2 separate regions of the Homo sapiens genome follow, and region 2 is linked to region 1. Evidence: promoter capture Hi-C in human tissues and cell types (Jung and others, 2019). All regions are on one chromosome and are shown on one strand. Each heading gives the region's core, a stretch centred on a gene start or on the middle of the fragment in contact. The rest is flanking DNA. Distances are from core to core; before and after follow the strand shown. Region 1 holds the start of OXA1L (OXA1L mitochondrial inner membrane insertase). Region 2 holds the start of TSSK4 (testis specific serine kinase 4).

The links. The method cuts DNA at HindIII sites, captures the fragments that hold promoters and counts their contacts. A contact is called where the count stands out against the background at its distance.
Region 2: a contact is called between the fragment with the promoter of TSSK4 here and the fragment with the promoter of OXA1L in region 1, in 1 of the 25 tissues and cell types used here (aorta).

What each region holds. Positions count from the first base shown.
Region 1 is chr14:22,764,009-22,769,159 of GRCh38, reverse strand. OXA1L (OXA1L mitochondrial inner membrane insertase) reads right to left here and starts at 2,472. Exons shown (of 10, transcript NM_005015.5): 1 at 2,396-2,472; 2 at 1,751-1,912; 3 at 989-1,202. The coding sequence starts at 2,458. It overlaps OXA1L-DT (OXA1L divergent transcript), which reads left to right and starts at 2,598. Exons shown (of 3, transcript XR_001750638.3): 1 at 2,598-2,736. RefSeq lists enhancers at 2,364-2,593, 2,187-2,750, 2,751-3,313, 3,314-3,877. The HindIII fragment of the contact is 11,434 bases long and covers 1-5,151 here.
Region 2 is chr14:24,203,369-24,208,445 of GRCh38, reverse strand. TSSK4 (testis specific serine kinase 4) reads right to left here and starts at 2,750. Exons shown (of 4, transcript NM_001184739.2): 1 at 2,298-2,750; 2 at 1,723-1,937; 3 at 937-1,330; 4 at 198-482. The coding sequence starts at 2,522. The coding sequence ends at 300. RefSeq lists an enhancer at 4,219-5,077. The HindIII fragment of the contact is 2,603 bases long and covers 1,742-4,344 here.

The DNA.
Region 1 (5,151 bases), core at 1,223-3,722:
CTACTATTGATTGCACAACAGGGTGACTATAGTCAGTAATAATAGCATATTTTTAAATAAAGAACGTAAAAATTAGCCAGGTGTGGTGGCACACCTGTAGTCCCAGCTACTTGAGAGGCTGAGACATGAGAATCGCTAGAACCTGGGAGGTGGAGGTTGCAGTGAGCTGAGACTGCACCACTGCACTCCAGCCTGGGTGACAGAGCAAGACTCCGTTTAAAAAAATAAATAAAATAAAAAATAAAATAAAAGTGTAATTGGATTGTTTGTAACTTAAAGGATAAATGCTTAAGGGGATGGATATCTCATTCTCCATAATGTGATTATTACACCTTGCATGCCTCTATCAAAACATCTCATGTAGCCCATAAATATATACACCTACTAGGTATCCACAAAAATTAACAACAACAAAATAAATAACAGCCATCAAAGGAAGAAGATAGGATAGTAAGTGAAGGGGAACTAAGGATGAAGGGAAGAAACCTTCCCCCAGGTAACACATGGGTGTGCCTGAGCATGTTTACATGTTCGGGGTAGGGCAGTGAGGAGGGAAATGCTGAAGACACAGGGGAGAAAAGATAATTGATGGAGCAACGTGGCAGAAAGACACATAATTCAAAGCAGAGTTCTAGCCTTTACAAAAGCAATGCTAGTGGCTTCCCAATTTAGGGGTTTAAGTGCCTGACCTGAACCTCTGTTCTAAACCAGGATAGCTTCATGACTGTTAATAAGGTCCCCTGACTCTAACCCCATGTTTGTATTCAAATATCTACACTTCTTGAATCCCAGATGATCTGGTGGTTTTATAATGCTCTTTAAGAAATATAGGCAGAGTGCATCTAGGTATCATGAACCTCTATTGCTCATTTGAAATCATCTGCTCTTCTGACCCCAGAGCTTCTGCAACTACTTCCTGAATCCATTCAAAGAATTGCCATCTATGAGGTTAAATCCCTAACCCATGTCCAGGGTATATTCCCCTTACATGCAGCAATGGCCCCCCACCAAGGTAGGCCCAGATCAACATGCATAAATTCCAGTAAATTCTGGATCAGTCCCACTGGGGTGTATGACCCCAGCCCCAGTTCAGCGAAGCTCTGCTCTGCAGCAGTTTGGACTACATCTGCAGTCTCTCCAGAAGCCACCTCAGGTACTGCTGTGGGTGAGGGAGTTGCAGCAACAACAGGAGGGGCCTGAACCTGTGTGAAAGAAAGCCTTGTATTATATTTATTCAGTAGCGAACACAAAGCAAGTGAGATCTTTTTATAATAACCAGTACTGGGTTCTGTTCTCTCTACTTCTTGTTCTTCCAGGTTAGCCTAGTGTCTGCAGATTTCAAGCTTAAAAAGGACATCTCATTTTTATCAATAGTTAGGAAGAGAAGTTACTTTGAGTAAGAATCCATGACTTCCCTTCATGCTGGGAAGTTATTTCTTTTATCACTGTTTTCCAAACTTCAGCCATTTGAATATCACTATCATGATTTTTGCCATATATTAACATGAAACAATTGCTTTTCTTTAAAACAGCTCAGAAAACCAAATATAACATCTCTCCTGTTGTACTTTCAATCATTTCCCCACTGAATTGAAAATCCATCCTAAGCAGAGATGCTATCATTTTGGAGAGCTGTGTGGAGCGTGGACAAGAACTCTGCTCCATATTCCCCCTGCTCCCAAACAAAACAAAATATGAAACCAACCAGGAAACACCACTCCTAATATTGCAGGAACGAAAGGCCTCTTACCTGGACTTCTGCAAAAGAGATAGCAGAGGTACTGAGGCTGCGGGGGCCGGAAGCCGCAAGGAAGAGGTAGTGTGGGCGACAGCAGCACGGGGCTGCTGGGAATAGGAGCCGTGTGGTCAGCGGTTTCCCAAGCCATTGCGAGGGCCCTGCGACGCTGTGGACCTGAGCGTGTAAAAGGATGATGGAGCCCCTTTACCGGGAGCAGAAGTCCTCGCGTGGGTGCAAACGGGATTCATTATGCTAACTCCCCAAGAAGCAGGCAGCTCGGCCACTACAGGGGAGGACATTGCTATCACCGCGCGCAGACCGCTAGCCCGAAGGCATGCAGCGGGTGGTGCCTGCAGAGCGAAGCTCGAACCTGGGTTCCCCGCATCTCAGTTATCGCAGACCCACATCGGAGGGCCCTGAGAACGAGGCCGAGGTGCTCTCGCCAGGAGCCAAGCCAATTCCAGAAGCTGACACCGGGCTGCTGGGCCCATAGTGTCGGGGACTAACCCTAGCGCGTCCTCACATGACCCGAGGTCATGACATTCAGGTCCCGGTGAGCAGGTCAGCGTCTGCTGATACCCCTAGCACGAGCTGTCCTGGGGCCTGGTTCACTGGGTCAGGGCAGCATCCCGGTGCTCTGCCCCGGGGCATCCTTACCCGACGCCCGGACTGTAGCAAGCGCAGAAGCTCCCGGCGTCCGCACATTAGTCCCATCGCCATTTTGCCCGGAAGAGGACTTGCTTTTGCGCCTGCGCAGTAAGAACCACAACCCCTCGAGAGGAAGCACTTTTGGAGGCGGGCATGAAGCCAGAATTGTAGCCGCAGATCAGGCGGTAAAAGAGAACGGAGCTTGGCGGCCATATTTGAAGTGGGTAAAAATCTGTAAAGCCACGTTACCATTAGCACGCAGAGAGCCTTTTCTGGAGATTGAAAGGAAGTTGAAGAGCTGGGTTAGCTATCATCGTAAGCTATCATCGTTAGTGATGGCGTAAACCTGGGTAATTTTCCTCTAATGTCGCGATTGTCCTCTGATTTGTAAGTTTAAAAATAGCCTCAGAAAAGGCTTGGCTGTACTTGCAGAGGATTTTTCCCACTCAATGATGTTCGATTCTTTTGATTCTTATTGCTAGGTAATATTGTAATCGCAGGTCCAGTGAAATTTGAGGGTAGTCTAGAGTCTGACAGAAATTAAAAGAAGGCAGCTTCTGGGAAATATTTTCCTCCCAGATAAAAAGACGAAGCTTCCAGAGGAGACTTCACCTTTCCATTTTTTTCTTCTGTAAGTGGGGTGGTGTGAGGACTGACCATGAGGGGACAAGTTTCCAGATGAAAAGCTCACGTGCAGGCCGGGCGCGGTGGCTCAGGTCTGTAATCCCAGTACTTTGGGAGGCCGAGGTGGGTGGATCACGAGATCAGGAGGTCGAGACCATCCTGGCCAACATGGTGAAACCCCATTTCTACTAAAAATACAAAAATTAGCCGGGCGTGGTGGTGGGCGCCTGTAATCCCAGCTACTCGGGAGGCTGAGGCAGGAGAATCACTTGAACCCGGGATGCAGAGGTTGCAGTGAGCCGGGATTGTGCCACTGCACTCCAGCCTGGGCAACAAGAGCGAGACTCCGTCTCAAAAAAAAAAAAAAAAAGGAAAGAAAAACTCACGTGCTGAAGATGGTTGAGGGCAAAGATAGAAAACACCCAAATACTTGATGATATCATTGAGCTGCTGTACCATGCTTGGAACTGCCTATCTCCAGACTTTGTTGTGTAAGTTAATTAAAGGTCTTGGCCGGGTGCAGTGGCTCATACCTGTAATCTCATCACTTTGGGAGGCTGAGGTGGTCTCGATAACTAGGTCAAGAGATCGAGACCAGCCTGGCCAACATGGTGAAATCCTGTCTCTACTAAAAATACAAAAAACAAAAAAACAAAATAACTAGGCGGGCGTGGTGGTGCATACCTGTAGTCCCAGCTACTAGGGAGGCTGAGGCAGGAGAATCGCTTGAATCCGGGAGGTGGAGGTTGCAGTGAGCCGAGGTGGAGCCACCTCACTCTAGCCTGGGCGACAGACTCCATCTCAAAAAAAAAAAAAAAAAGATGATTAAAGGTCTTTACTGTTTAGACTCTAAGTCTGTTGCTTGGGTGTTCTGTTTCTTGAAGTTAAAAGCATTCATCTTCAGGGAAAAAAGTTACTGGTCAGAAAGGTGGAGTTTGATTATGTTTGAACCCTTACAAAGTCTCTCAATATGCAGATTACTTTCTAAACAACAAATTATAGTTTCAGAAAGATACAATAACCTGAAATTATTTCAGTGACTGCTCATTTGGAACGATTATGAATGTACCTGACAGATATGGCGAAAATAGGAGGCAAAGAACTATAATACTGATTTAGTAATAATTAGTGGTATGAGCTAACACTTGCATATGTTGGATGCTATTATAAACATCAATAGATTTTTGATATGGAAACACTGATTTTTTTTTAGAGATTACTTTTAAAACTCAATACAATTAGAAGTAATTACAAATATACAGCTACAGAACACTTGGCAGGGTGACTATCTTACAGTACACTGCTACTTTGGTGGCCCCAAATGAACCAGGCTTCCCAATATTTGCACCTTTAGGAGTTCTCTTCTCTTGAGTCTGATTGGGCCTGTCACTTGCTTTAATCAATAGTAGAATGCGTTGGAAGTGATGTTATGCCAGTTTGGGACTATGCCTTAAGAAGGCCTGATAGCTTCTGTTTTTGCATTCGGGGGAAGCCAGCTGCTGTGTTAGAAGTTTGACTTCTCAGACTTACTGCCTGTGAAAAGCCCAACCAACCATGTGAAGAAGAACTGAGGTTTGGGCCAACAGCCTCAGTTGAACTCCCAGCCAGCAGTCAACACCAACTTTTGCCAGCCACGTGAAGAAGGCCATTTAAAAAGTGGATTCTCCAGCCCACTGGAGCCACCTCAGGTGACTGCGTGTGGAGCAAAGAAAGGCTATTTGAGCCCACATTGCAAAATTACAAGCAAATAAATAAAATTATTGTAGTTTTAAGCCACTAAGTTGTTTAATAATAGATAGCTAAAATGTACAGGCAAACTTGGAAGATACTGTGGGTTGGGTTCCAGACCACTACAATAAAGCCAATATCATAATAAAGTGAGTCACAGGGATTTTTTTGTTTTGCAGTGCATATAAAAGTTATGTTGGGCCGGCATGGTGGCTCAGGCCTGTAATCTCAGCACTTTGGGAGGCTGAGGCAGGTGGATCGCTTGAGCTCAGGAGTTTGAGACCAACCTTGGTAACATGGTAAGACCCCATCTCTTAAAAAAAAAAATACTAGGCCGGGTGTGGTGGCTCATGCCTGTAATCCTAGCACTTTGGGAGGCCGAGGTGGGTGGATCACTTGAGGTCAGGAGTTTG
Region 2 (5,077 bases), core at 1,501-4,000, 1.4 Mb before region 1:
GTTGAATAATAAAGCTTCCCAAAATAGAGCGTTAATCTGAGCACCCCATCCCCTAAGAGCCACATCATGAATTACACTATTGATTTAACACAGTGTCAAGATTATTGGTTACAGGCTCTGGGCAGAAATCTATCTCTTACTCCAGCAGTGTTCCCTGCTATAAGATTGCCTTGAGAAAAGAATGTCTTTGACCCTAGTTGATGAAACTAAATCAGACTTAGATTTATTTTTGGTAAAAAAGATTTTTAGCCCAAGACCTCCTGCTTTGCTCCTCTCTTAGCCCCCTCCCTCAGCCATTTTCAGGTCGTAATTTGCAAGGATTGGTGCTGTTTAGTGGTGTTGTGGAGCTGGCACATGGCCTCAAGCAGCCTGATCTCATGGGTGGGTTGCTCAGGCTGGAACTTGAGCACCCAGGAATCCTTGATGATGTCCAGAATGGTGGCACGCTTAGTGGCTTGGCGTAGCATCTGGAGGATCAGGTTCTAGAGCAGGGGAGAGAGAGGTCTTGCCTGAGTTTTTCTCCATTGTGCCACACAGGCAATGAGCAGTTGGACCTAAGAAAGAAGCAGGATAGCCCATCATACCACTCTGGTCAAAGTGGGTGTGGCTCTGATTTTATCTTGGAGACCCAGGCAGTTAACTCCCTGGAGGGGAAGGGAAGAGTTCCTTGGGAGGAATGCTTTCCATATTTCCCTTCTGGCCTAAAGAGAAAGAAGCTGGAACCTGTGTATCAGGCAAGGTTTGGAGCCTAGTGGTTGGCCCTTTATGCCTTCCATACTGTTTATTATAGGACAGGAGCTAGTGTGTGAGATGGCTCTGGTGTGGGAAGAGCCTTTCCCCAGGGTTGGGAGGCCTAGGTTGGGTGACCTAGGTTGGATATTCACCCCTCCCTGTGGGTCATCCCTGAAGGCTCAGCCCTCCTTAGGTAGCCAGTACCTTGCACTCCTGGGAGATGGTATGGTTAGCTGGGAAAGTGACCTCCTTCTGAGTCTCTCTTAGCAGCTTTTTGAGATTGGTGTCATCAAAGGGCAGATGGGCGACCACTAGAGTGTAAAGGATGACGCCCATGCTCCAGGTGTCAGACAGGAAAGGGTTGTAGGGCAAGCCTCGTAAGATCTCTGGGCAAGCGTAAGCAAAGCTGCCACAGTAAGTCTGGCTGAGGTGGGAAAAGCAGTTCACTTGGCGGTAAGAAGGGCTACAACCCACAGGCTGGTTAGAAGGCACCATCTTGGCAAAGCCAAAGTCTGATATCTTCACATTCTCCCACTTGTCCAGCAACAGGTTCTCCAACTTTAAGTCCCTACCAGCAGCAGAAAGGCTGGGCATCAGGCTGGGGAGAGGGCTTAGTTTTAGACTGGGAGCTGAAGGGCCAGGGGTCAGAGGGTAAAGATGAGGACAGAGGAAGTGGGAGGTAGAAACCATTATGAGGGCACAAGGTAGAGAGGAAGGAAAGCCATGGAGTTGTGAGCAGAGCCCAAAGTAGGGAGAGAGACAGAGGATGGTATCTGAGGACCACCGGGAGCTCACCATTGTATTTCATAAAATGCTTTGCATACAGTGAGTACTTTATCAGTATCCTTGACCATATGATTAAAATAGAGTGCATGAATAGGCTAGATATTGAGGAGGGAGTTCGAAAGAGGAAAAAAGGACAGGAAATGGGAGATGTGCATAAAACCCCCTTGAGGGCAAAGGCCCCAGTCTGGGTGGCAGCGCCCTCACCGGTGCACGATGCTCTTGCTGTGCAGGTAGGCAATGCCCAGGGTCAGCTGGGAGAACCACTTGCCAGCAAGGGGCTCAGAGCAGGCCCCGTAGCGCTGGATCCATTCAAGGACATCACCACCCTGAGCCAGTTCCAGAATGATGTATACTCGAGATGTGCTCTCAATGGCCCGATAGAAGTTGATGAGGTACTTGTGCCGCAAGACTTTCATTACCTGACCCCAGAAGAAGGACCCATCAAACCTGGGAAGGGAGAACCCTGACTGCACTCCCAGCCGTCTCCTACCCTCAGCTACTGACTTAGGACTTTGCAATAGGATCAGCCCCTCAACCCCAGAGAACTGGTGGCCTGTGGGCAAATGCTATGTTTTGTGCCTTTACTTTTTGGGGACTGAAGGTGAGTGGGTGGATGGGAAAGAGGTTTAACTTACATAAAGTTTCCTAGCTGCTTAGTGAGACATTTCAGTTCTGGTTTAGGGGTTTCTGGCCCCACCCCTCCTGGCCATACCCCTTCTGAGAAACCTCAAGCAGCTTAGTACCAAGCTCCAGTTCCCTCTTCCAGCCCCCTTTCCAACCTGTATTTCACGGGGCAGGAACTTGTTAAGATAGTCATCAGAGGCCTTCTTCTTTGAGATGATCTTGACTGCCACCATAACCTTCTGCTTTGTGTAGAAAGCCTCATATACCGACCCATAGGAGCCATGGCCAATGGCCTTGCCCACCTCATAACCATATTCATCCATGAGGGAATGGTAGGCTGTGGTGGTTGGTGCTGCCTCTAAGACATCTCCCTTCCCCATGGTGTTGGGCTTGCTGAGAGCAGGGAGCTTTACTACTTGGAAGCCTCCTATCCAAAGGCCAACACCTTGAGCTGCTGAAGGCTAGGGTATCAAAGTGAAGTAGGTCCCCAAATGCTTGCCTATATAGTCACACGAGTCTGGGATGCTGGACTCAGCCCTCCACTAGGAACTTGGAGGGGGAAAGAAAGAGAAGCAGTTCTTTTTGTCTCCACTGGCTGTTGTTACTTTCTCCTTTTGGTTACGGAACTCCTCAAGGTCCCATGTTCCGAATACATCACAATCCACCTCCTATCCATCGTTGGCCACAAAACTTGAGAATGAAGTGCGGCCGGGCGCGGTGGCTCACGCCTGTAATCCCAGCACTTTGGGAGGCCGAGGCGGGCGGATCACGAGGTCAGGAGATCGAGACCATCCCGGCTAAAACGGTGAAACCCCGTCTCTACTAAAAATACAAAAAATTAGCCGGGCGTAGTGGCGGGCGCCTGTAGTCCCAGCTACTTGGGAGGCTGAGGCAGGAGAATGGCGTGAACCTGGGAGGCAGAGCTTGCAGTGAGCCGAGATTGCGCCACTGCACTCCAGCCTGGGCGACAGAGCGAGACTCCGTCTCAAAAAAAAAAAAAAAAAAAAAGAGAATGAAGTGCAGTTGGAAACGTACTCATTCCCAGAGGCACCTTCCACAGTCTGGTGAAACTCCTAAAGATCAGACCTTTCATTGATATATGAGTACCTACTAAGTACCAGACACTGTGCTGAATACTTGGATAAAATGTCACCCAAATGTCATGCCAGACCCTTCCTCCTTCCTCAATCCCTACATACAATCTTTCATCAAATCCTGTCTCTGCTATCTCCTACTTATCTCTTTAATGATACACTCAAGGCTTTCCGAGCCCATTGCAGCCCCCTTAGTTCAATAAGGCCAATAGAGACACTATGATCCTAAAGCTTATAATGCAGCATGAGAAATACGAGTGTGAAAGTATTACCATTGTAAGGTATTGAACATGTTCTAGGAAAATCTAACCTTGAAATGCATCCTTATCTTCTATGAGCCAGAACTCTCTAGTTTTCCTCCACATCCTTCTGGTCACTCCTCAGCCTTCACTGAAGTTATATCTTTCTCTATCCATCCCTTAATCATATCCCAAGTGTTACATCACAAGCTTTATTTTCTCAAACCTTCACATCCTCCCTTAATCTTGTCCATACCCATGGTGTCAATACTACATTTATGCTGACTGCTCCTAATTTCATCTCCATCCCATATATCTGGAGTTTAGATAGAGCAGCCAGTATTACGTGGCCATGTCTGCCCCAGGCATGGAACTTACCATATCCATCTCAAACTTAACCATATCAATAATTGAACTTATTTTCTTCTCTCAGACTTTTCTGTGAGTTGTACACTAATCACCCTTAATTTAGACACTCATATGTCATCCCAGACCCTCCTGCCTCAGTCCCTACATTCAATCTATCACGAAATCCTATCTCTTATACCTCCTGATTCTCTCTTTGATAATATTCTCATGGTTTTCTGAGCCCACTGCTAATCCCTTAGTTCACGCCTCCATCATCGAACAGATGGCCCCCGCCAGCCTTCTGCTCCACTCCAGTCTGTCCATCCCAAGTCCAAAGCATAAATCTGATTTTATTTCCATTTGAAACAATTCAGTGTCTCCCCATTCTCTTTAGGATCAAGTCCATCCAAATTCTTTCACACAGCTTTAAGTCTGATCCTGCTTACCTCCCCAATTTTATTTTTTAACACACACGTAATGATCCACAACTGCTTTTCTGTATTTGTGGCAAACTCCAAATCTTCCTTGAGAACTTGGCATAGGACCTTTTTTCTCTTTTTTTTTTTTTGAGATGGAGTTTCGCTCTTGTTGCCCAGGCTGGAGTGCAATGGCACGATCTTGGCTCACTACAACCTCCAACTCCTGGGTTCAAGCGATTCTCCTGCCTCACCCTCCCTAGTAGCTAGGATTACAGACATGCACCACCATGCCTAGCTATTTTGTATGTTTAGTAGAGACAGGGTTTCTCCATGTTGGTCAGGCAGGTCTTGAACTCCCGACCTCAGGTGATCTGCCCACCTTGGCCTCCCAAAGTGCTGGGATTATAGGCATGAGCCACCGCGCCCCGTCTGTTTTTGTTTTGAGATGGAGTTTCGCTCTTGTTGCCCAGGCTGGAGTGCAATGGCACAATCTCGGCTCACCGCAACCTCCACCTCCCGGGTTCAAGCCATTCTCCCGCCTCAGCCTCCCGAGTAGCTGGGATTACAGGCATGCACCACCACGCCTGGCTAATTTTGTATTTTTTAGTAGAGACGGGGTTTCTCCATGTTGGTCAGGCTGGTCTCGAACTCCCAACCTCAGGTGATCTGCCTGCCTCAGCCTCCCAAAGTGCTGGGATTATAGCCGTGAGCCACCGCGCCCAGTGGAGCTGTTTTAAAGAAGGCTTAACTGACTGCTCAAGCTTCAGTTAGATATTCCTTCTTCCTGGGTGCTCCCACAGGCCCAATACTTTGTCTGTCACAGCACCTAACATAG